3 separate regions of the Homo sapiens genome follow, and regions 2 and 3 are each linked to region 1. The links are contacts of gene promoters, found by promoter capture Hi-C in blood cells and fetal thymus (Javierre and others, 2016). All regions are on one chromosome and are shown on one strand. Each heading gives the region's core, a stretch centred on a gene start or on the middle of the fragment in contact. The rest is flanking DNA. Distances are from core to core; before and after follow the strand shown. Region 1 holds the start of WNT16 (Wnt family member 16). Region 2 overlaps CPED1 (cadherin like and PC-esterase domain containing 1). Region 3 has its middle 170 kb from the start of FAM3C.

Evidence for each region. Contacts are between HindIII fragments. The CHiCAGO score rates a contact against its expected background, and 5 or more counts as called.
Region 2: a contact is called between a fragment that was not itself captured here and the fragment with the promoter of WNT16 in region 1, in 2 of 17 cell types (total B cells and naive B cells). The highest score is 15.6, in total B cells.
Region 3: a fragment that was not itself captured here is called in contact with the fragment with the promoter of WNT16 in region 1 in 6 of 17 cell types (non-activated CD4 T cells, naive CD4 T cells, activated CD4 T cells and 3 more); the score reaches 7.2 in non-activated CD4 T cells.

Annotation. Positions count from the first base shown.
Region 1 is chr7:121,327,488-121,330,646 of GRCh38, forward strand. WNT16 (Wnt family member 16) reads left to right here and starts at 1,513. Exons shown (of 4, transcript NM_057168.2): 1 at 1,513-1,900; 2 at 2,080-2,330. The coding sequence starts at 1,806. The HindIII fragment of the contact is 8,913 bases long and covers 1-3,159 here.
Region 2 is chr7:121,142,092-121,145,224 of GRCh38, forward strand. CPED1 (cadherin like and PC-esterase domain containing 1) reads left to right here. Exons shown (of 23, transcript NM_024913.5): 16 at 1-50. It overlaps LOC124901735 (a long non-coding RNA gene), which reads right to left. Exons shown (of 3, transcript XR_007060494.1): 3 at 1,773-3,133. Among named protein-coding and RNA genes, the nearest start is that of CPED1, 150 kb to the left of the region's middle. The HindIII fragment of the contact is 7,707 bases long and covers 1-3,133 here.
Region 3 is chr7:121,561,873-121,565,001 of GRCh38, forward strand. No RefSeq gene overlaps it. Among named protein-coding and RNA genes, the nearest start is that of FAM3C, 170 kb to the left of the region's middle. The HindIII fragment of the contact is 440 bases long and covers 1,390-1,829 here.

The DNA of each region.
Region 1 (3,159 bases), core at 263-2,762:
TTACAGGCATGCACCACCACACCCAAATAATTTTGTATTTTTAGCAGGGACAGGGTTTCACCATGTTGGCCATGCTGGTCTTGAACTCCTGACCTCTGGTGATCCGCCCATCTTGGCCTCCAAAAGTGCTGGGATTACAGGTGTGAGCCACTGCACCTGGCCCCAAATCCTTTATTTAAGTAATTTTGGCTTTGGGTACCCACTGAGCTGATACGTCCACCATGGGAATGTATTAACACTTCAAAAGATCTCTAAGGACAGATAATGCTTCTTAGAAACATTTCTTGTGTCTAATTAGGTGAGGCAGGCTTTCCCAATACCACAGCTAAACACGTTGCACTTGCCTTCAGATAACTCTCGGAGACCTTCCATCCTACAAAACACTGATTAACTAACCTTCCAAATCTGCCAGTAACTGGAACACTTCCTGCTTCTGAACTATCTTCGGCTCCAGGGAGTACCCTGCTAGATTCTTTAATCTCTCTTACTGATCATCTAAACGTATTTTCTTTTACACTTGTGTATGGTTTATTTGTACAGTTGTGGGAAGAGAGCTTGTCTTTATAAATTCCCACAGGACTAGGCACACAGCAGGTATTTAATAAGTACGTTTTTAAAAATGTGTCTTCCATGTGTAGCCCTGTCCTGCAGGGACGCATCGGGTAGGTGGCAAAGGGGTGCCCAATCCTAGCGAACTTTCAACTGAGGTTGGGGGAGAAGGGCAGGGACCCTCCCACCATGAGAATCGTAAGGTAGGACTGGAGAAAAAGATCAGAGCACATCTCTCATGTACTCTAGAACTCTCCAGAAACCTCTCACTTTCTTTGTCCCCATCTTCTGCAGGGGACTTACAGCGTTCTCAGGGACTGCAGGAAATAAGACAAATAGGGAAAAGGAAATCACAGAGCACGATTGAAATATGGCAGATGAGATGCTAGACTGGAATCTTCTCTTTCGCTCAAAATAAATGCATACATAAATGACAGTGATTGTAAGCCTGACAGCACTTCACCCACTCTCTAAAGTCTCCTGACAGTGGGACCTCAAGCAGGGGACTGGAAGGTTAATTTGTTCGGTACCAACTCTGACTCAAAAAGATTATTCTCCTGTGAGGTGAAGGAGAAGAAAAAAAGGTCAGTGACATTTTCCAGCCACTACACCCAGAGGGTAACCCAGATGTTGGTGGGATGGGTGGGACTCATCAAACCCACGCTTTCCCCCAAGGTTGCTAAGACAGAGCGTCCTGTTAGTCTTCGGGTTGAATCAACCCCACAACGACCCGTTCTAAGGAGACTGTGACAGCAGGAAAGGTCATGACACACCCAGGTCTGGACACGCTGTCCCTGAGGCCAGTGCCCGGAGCGCCCCCCGCGGAGCCGCTCTCCACCAATAAGAGCCTGAGGTCCCGAGATGATGAGATGCGGGGCCGCTGCTCAGCCAATCAGGCTCCAGGCGCGGCCAGGGGGAGGAGATGGGAGGAGAGGCCGGGGGCGATGGAGACGCGGATACATCAACAGAAGTTTCTCACCTAGGAATGCGAGGGGCGCTCCCGCATCTCCTGCACATCTCCACCCCTGCGCAGGAGGAGATCCCCAGGCTGCTCTCTCCATCTCTCCTACAGCTCCCTGCAAACGAGGGGGAAGCTGCTGAGAGTCCCTATCACTGCTGGCCTTTTAATGTTGTATGCAAGGAGGAAGAGGGCGAGGGATAACTTGGTGCTGGACAACTGACCTGCGGCCCGAAGGGCCTCTGGGGAGGGGGTGCAAAAGAGGAGCGGCTGGGCTGGGGGACTCCATGCGGGGGCGATGGACAGGGCGGCGCTCCTGGGACTGGCCCGCTTGTGCGCGCTGTGGGCAGCCCTGCTCGTGCTGTTCCCCTACGGAGCCCAAGGAAACTGGATGTGAGTATGGAGGTGGCAGGGAAGCATCGGGTAGGTGGCAAAAGGGGTGCCCAATCCTAGGGAACTTTCAACTGAGGCTGGGGGAGAAGGGCGGGGACCCTTAGACGAGTGACCTAATTTTTCGGAAAACATCTGGAATTGGGGAGCGGCTTAACGCTACGGGCGGCCGTGTCTTACAGGTGGTTGGGCATTGCCTCCTTCGGGGTTCCAGAGAAGCTGGGCTGCGCCAATTTGCCGCTGAACAGCCGCCAGAAGGAGCTGTGCAAGAGGAAACCGTACCTGCTGCCGAGCATCCGAGAGGGCGCCCGGCTGGGCATTCAGGAGTGCGGGAGCCAGTTCAGACACGAGAGATGGAACTGCATGATCACCGCCGCCGCCACTACCGCCCCGATGGGCGCCAGCCCCCTCTTTGGCTACGAGCTGAGCAGCGGTGAGTCCTGGGTCCTTAGGGGTTGGTGGGGGACGGAAGGCGACAACTCCTCCACCGGTTCCTGCAAATAAAGTAAATAGTGCTACGTGGTCCTGTAGCTCTCTAAGTTCCAGAAGAAGCCCTTTAGTGCACGGGGATTGAGAGCTACAAAGGCCAGACCTGGGGAGCAGGTGCGAGCCTGGAGGGAGGTGACTCCCCAGTTCCAGAGCGGAGCTCTAGGGGCTGGAGCTCTTCCTCTTTCCTGCGGTGCCCCGCCAGAGTTGGAAAAAAAACTCTAATTCTCCTACCCCGCCGACCCCCTCGGACCCCGTAGCGCCCCCCTACGTGGGTGACCAGCTGGAGAAACATGATGTCGGCAGCGGGGAATGCGGCTGCCGCATCTGCTTTGATTTAACCAACTCCGCTGCGCACCAAACCCCGGACAAGTGGCTAATTGCAGCGAAGCCCCACCTTTATTGGCTCCTAGGAGCACCGAGTTGACAGAATAATGGTGACTTTTAAAGCGACTGTCCGCGACCACCCAACGTGCGGCTAACCTGAGCAGGACCACTTGTGCGCTTCTCGTTTCTTTGGCTTTTCTATCTTTCCCTCCTCGGCGCACTCCCGCGGCGCGGGAAGCTGCAGGAAAACAAAGTTCCACTTCCACGTGCGTAGTGACTTGGTAAGGATAAAGGTACAGGGAGCCAGGATTGTTCCTGGAATATCAACAGATCCAAAGAATGTTAGGACTGGGGCGCTGAAGGATGCGCTGTCGTTTTTCATGTTCATTTCCGTTCCCCCTCCGCCTTTGACCCTTGTCCACGCAGTCCCTGCGCGCACCCCCGCCGAG
Region 2 (3,133 bases), core at 526-3,025, 190 kb before region 1:
GCCCAAGTCTGCCCTTGTTTGAGGCCTTCACAGCATGTGGTTTTGTGCAGGTAAGTGAAGTTTACATTTGCACTTGGGTTGAATTGGGAATGATCTGTTAACCCAGGCGGAAAATGCCAAATGAAAATTATTACAAGAAATTGTATGCCTTGAAATCGAAACTGTGGTCTCATTTCAAAAAAGTGAGAATCCCAGCCAGGTATCTAAGTCACCTCGTTGTGAGTGATTTTCTTTTTAGTGTGATGGCTACTGTCTGTGCTCATTGTTTTCAGTGGACTTATTGTGGTTAATGTTCAAAAAAAATGTCTGAGGACTCACACTTAGTTGTGAAATCGGTTTCACATTTTCCTTTTAAATTGGGCTATTTTTCTTGGATTTGTCCCTGGATCTACTTTTGAAATGTTAAACTAGATTTAGTAGAATTTACTTTGAAGAATAAGAGGAAAATTTATGAAGCTATTTTACAAGACGGATACTGGATAAATGAAACTAAATTTGCTTGGGATAGTTAAATTTCTCATTCACTTCTCATACAGTAATCATTTTGCAAGGCTGTAGTTTCTCTTGTGAGCAACACATACCATTTTGTAACCTTGTTCATTTTGGAGAAGGATGAATGTTACCCTAACACTTTTGTTCTACGGTTTTTCCCTATTTTTGCTCTTTTAAGGATCCCATGTATAACTTTGTACAGTTCCTCATATCATATACCCCTTGCTACAGGTGATTCCAGGGAAGTAGTAATTGGTATTTTTATCACATATCTATTAATTCACTCAGAAAGTATACTTGCAAATATATCATGTCACATTATATATTACTGGGAGCTTTGAAGAATAGCTGGTTAGTAAAAGAGAGGTATTGCTGACTGGGCCTTGATAGGTAGCATGGTTACCATGTTTTTTATAAATGTAACAGCCAGGCACAGTAATCACCCCGCCACTGTCTTATCTGTTTCCAAGAGCTTTAAAAATCTCAGGGATTGGTATAATTTTTATTTTTTGAGGAAAACATATCACTAATTTAGGAATTACCACTAAATCAAATGGAATTTCACATTAGTCTGAAGATTCATTCAAAGAAAGACAAATATGTTATTCTCAAAGATATTAATAAGCACACTTAAAAAAGAGTAGAATACAGTTCCATGGTCAAATAAACCCATTGGTTGATGAAGCAATAAGCTAAACAAAGTTAAGTAGATGTCTTTACTATAGGACTTCCCTGAACCTCTAATATAGTAATTTAAATGGTGGTTCATTTATAGTACGGAAAATATATAGTGTGTTTCATTTCCAAACTTATTTGATATGGTTTTAATAGAATAGCTATTGATATTTTTGTGGGACAGATTTGAGGAAACACTGGTCTACACTATGGAGAAGACTTTAAAATATGTTCCTCTTAGGTTTTGACCTTTCAATTTGCTTTATTTGGATTGCTGTCTCAACTTGCTTCTGAATTGAAGAACAAATAATATAGCCACACCAAAAATGTTTAAAAAAATAAACAAAAACTTAGAGGGAGGTGTGCTTTTGTATATTTGTGTATATTTGTGTGTATAATTATTTCTAAACTAAATATTCTTACCCTTTTTGGTGGAGCATTTTTTTCATACATTGCTGGGAGAAGTGTGAAATGTTTGACCACTTTGGAGAACTTTGGCAGTATCCACTAAAGCTAAATATGTATAAATGATTCAGCAGTCCTTCTAGCTATACACCTAAGATAAATGAAGTCATATGCCCATAAAAAGACACACACACACAAAATCTTCGTATTGGTTTTATTCATAGTAGCTAAAAGTTGAAAAAAATTCAGTAAGAAAGGAAACAAATCCAATATTATACTATTGGGGCATTAAAAATAAATGAAGTATGGATACACACAAATATGAAACAATCTTCAAAACCTTACATTCATAAAAACAAGCCAGACATCAATAATGAATGCTAGCAAGGATGTGGAGAAAAGAGAACCCTTGTACTCTGTTTGTGGGAAAGTAAACTAGTACAGCCACTGTGGAGAACAGTATCGAGGTTTCTCAAAAAACTAAAAATACAACTACTGTGTAATCCAGCAATCCCACTGCTGAGTATATTTCTGAAATAAAGGAAATCAGTATATTGAAAAGCTATCTGCATTCCCATGTTTGTTGCAGCATTATTCACAATAGCCAAGATATGGAATCAACCTAAGTGTCCATCAATGGATGAATGGATAAAGAAAATGTGGTACATATATACAATGGTGTATTACTCAGCCATAAAAATGATATCCTGCCATTTGCAACAGCATGGATGGAACTGGAAGATATTAAGTGAAATAAGTCAGGAACAAAAAGACAAATATCACATGTTCTCAGTCATATGTGGGAGCCAAAGACAAGTGGATATCATGGAGATAAAGAGTAGAATGCTGGTTAACCATAGTCTGAGTAGGGCAGTGGAGAGGCTGGGATGAAGAGTGGTTGTTAATGGGCACAAAAACACCAATAGAAGGAATAAGGTCTAATGTTCAATAGTATAACAGGGCAACTGTAGTTAGCAGTAATTCATGGCATATTTCAAAACAACTAGAAGAGTGGAATTGGAATGTTCCTAACACAAAGAAATGACACATACTTGAGGTGTGATAGATATCCCAATTACCCTGATTTGATCATTACACATTGTATACTTATATCAAAATATCACATGTATCCCATAAATATATACAACTATTATGTATCCACAACAATTAAAAACAAAAAAAATTAAAAGAAGCCAGATATATAAAGAAATACTGTATTTCACTTATATGAAGTTCAAGAATAAGCAAAACTAATCTATGTTTATAGAAGTCAGAATAGCAGTTACTAGAAGGTGTAGGTACAACTAAGCATGAGGGAATTTTTTGGGCAAATGTCCTATATCTTAATCTGGGTGCTGGTTACATATATAACTAGGTGCTATATAGATAGATACAAATTTAATTAACTGCATTTAAGATTTTTGCAATCTACTGTTTAAAATTATACAATATATCAACTATACATGTGTATTTGTGTATATATATATATAAATTATGTATACTGCATATAAATTATACCTCAATAAATTAGGAAAAAAGATTGGTGGGAAAGTTATATATT
Region 3 (3,129 bases), core at 360-2,859, 230 kb after region 1:
CATATGAGGAGTCTGTCAAAAGCCTGGCACTCTGCCAGAATTCAGAGCCACATGGAGTTTTTGAACCTCATGTGCAAGGAATTCAGTTAAATGTATACTACTCAGTTTATCTCATACTTCCAATATATGTCCTTACTTGGCTCTTTTTGTTTTACTTTTCCCCATCTCTTCATCCCCTGTCCCACTTCCCTTCTCCACATGTCTGATATATCATATACTTGTATGTTCTTGAAGTGCATGTTTGCTTTTTTATTTGCATCGATGGCTTTGTACCATAGACTGAATTCTATTTTTTGCATATTTTAACTCCATGTGTTTTAAGATCTATTTATGTTGGTATATGTATATCTCATTCATTGTTTCTAGTTGCTACATAGTATTCCATTGTGTGTATCTACCACATTTTATTATAAGATGCCCTGTAGATAGACGCCACTGTTGCCTCAAACTCTTGACTATGCAAGCAAAATGATGATTATCCTTGCTCACTACCCTTATGGACATACATGTGAGTTTCTCTGCAATATAAATGCAGGAATGATCTTTTTGGATCATAAATTCTCTGAGTACTATCAGGTTACTATTCATGAAATTGTTACCATTCCTGAAATTGTTGCCAGAGTATGTGACCCTTAGCAATGCAGTGGCTCCTCATTTATCCACATAGTTCTCAACATTTGGTGTTTTTGTAGTCTATGTTTTGCCAATCTGAGAAATACAAAATGGTATGTCATCATTTCAGTTTTCATTAATCTGATTACCAGTGGGTTTCAGTCTCTCTGGTTTTCCTTCTTTTTCTAAATGATCTACCTGAGTTTCTATTCATATAGAAATAAAATCTTTTGACTTGTTTAGGCTCTATATTTTCTACTAATCTTGTTCAACCTTAATTTTGATGTAATTGAGTATGCCACCTTTTCACGTTATTGTTTTGATTTTGGGCCTCCTGTTTCAGAAGCCCTTCTGTACTCGTAGGCTTATAAAGATAATCTCTTACATTTTCCTTAATTTCATTTCAGTCTTTACTTTCCCAGTTAGGTCTTTAACTCTTCTGATGTTGACTTTTGAATATCATGCCTTACTCTATTTGATATGGTGGGCTACTTTTTCCATGGAATCCTTATAATGACTTTCACACATTACTAAATTCAAAATATGTGTCATGAATAAGATGATGTTTTAAGCACAATAGCATTTTAAAATAACCAGTGATGATCTATTTCTACACATTGATAACATCTATAAATTTTCAGGTATCGTTCGTGTGTGTTTGCTAGATATTTATGTATTTTATTAGCTGGGATGATCTTGTGAAGCCCAATGACACAAATAGTAGCAGAGAGAAGGTATTTGGCTAATATAGGTCCAAAATATGTCCAAAAACGTCAAAGCTTGTGGATTTATGGTTTATTGCTGGGAAGAGATACAATAGAGCAATGGCATTAAAGTAATCTATATATCCCAGCCAAAGGCTGCTTTCCAAAAAGTGGAGAAGCTGGTTCCAATTGTCCTCCCTCTGCAGGCCTGTGCTAGAATGCACTTTTTCTCTCCAGTCAGGAATGACTGATATGTACATCTAACATCCAGGAACCAGGAGTCTGGGCTGACCTTTTTATATCATACTGGTCACATAGGCATCTTTTTGCAATCTAATCAGTAACAGAGCCTTTAGGGATCTCAATAACAACAGGTGCAAACCATCAATCTCACCATTTACCAAAAACAATGCTGATAAGCTGGTACACCTTAGACCCATGTTTCCTCAGATCCATATTTTCATGCGTGTCCATGTGAAGAGACCACCAAACAGGCTTTGTGTGAGCAATAAAAGCTTTTAATCACCTGGGTACAGGCAGGCTGAGAACGAAAAGAGAGTCAGTGAAGGGAGATGGGGTGGGGCTGTTTTATAGGATTTGGGTAGGTAAAGGAAAAAGGGGGTTTTTCTCTGGCGGGCAGGAATGGGGGTCACAAGGTACTCAGTGGGGGAGCTTTTGAGCCAGGATGAGCCAGGAGAAGGAATTTCACAAGACAATGTCATCAGTTAAGGCAGGAACAGGCCATTTTCATTTCTTTTGTGGTGGAATGTCATCAGTTAAGGCAGGAACTGGCCGTCTGGATGTGTACATGCAGGTCACAGGGGATATGATGGCTTAGCTTGGGCTCAGAGGCCTGACATTCCTGTCTTCTTATATTAATAAGAAAAATAAAATGAAATAGTGGTAAAGTGTTGGGACAGTGAAAATTTTTGGGGGTGGTATGGAGAGATAATGGGCGATGTTTCTCAGGGCTGCTTCGGGCGGGATTAGGGGTGGCGTGGGAACCTAGAGTGGGAGCAATTAAGCTGAAGGAAGATTTTGTGGTAAGGGGTGATATTGTGGGGTTGTTAGAAGAAATATTTGTCTTGTAGAATTATTGGTGATGGCCTGGATATGGTTTTATATGAATTGAAAAACTAAATGGAATAAGAGAAGGAGAAAAACAGGTATAAAAGGTCTAAGAATTGGGAGGACCTAGGACATCTGATTAGAGGGTGCCTAAGGAGATTCAGCATAGTCCTGCCAGCAAAGATTATTTATTTACTTCAAGAGTTAAGAGTGGCAGTTTGGGGATAGCACCAGGAGATATCAGCTGTGGTGGCTTGGAGAAACAGTGTAAACTGGCAGTGTAAACAAGAGCAGGGCATGTATGAGTAGTTGAGAACGGCGAATAGGAGTATGACTAGACAGAAGATAGTAGGGATGACAAGTTTTTTGGGGCACAGTCTAAGTTGGTCTGGTGTCTGGAATGAGACTGGGGCCTAATAAAAAGGAGCGTCAATACAGGAGCTCAAATGGGCTGTACCTTGTAGCATTCCGAGGACAGGCCTGAATTCTGAGAAGGGAAAGTGGTAAAAGTATTGTTCAGTCCTTTTTAAGTTGGTGGCTGAGCTTGGTGATGTGTGTTTTTAAAAGACTTTTAGTCCGTTCTACATTTCCTGAAGATGGAGGACCATAAGGGATATAAAGGTTTCACTGAATCCTAAGAGCTTGAAAAACTGCTTGGCTGATTTGACTGATAAAAGCTGGTCTGTTATCAAACTACATAGAGGTGGGAAGGCTAAACTGAGGAATTATGTCTGACAGAAGGGAA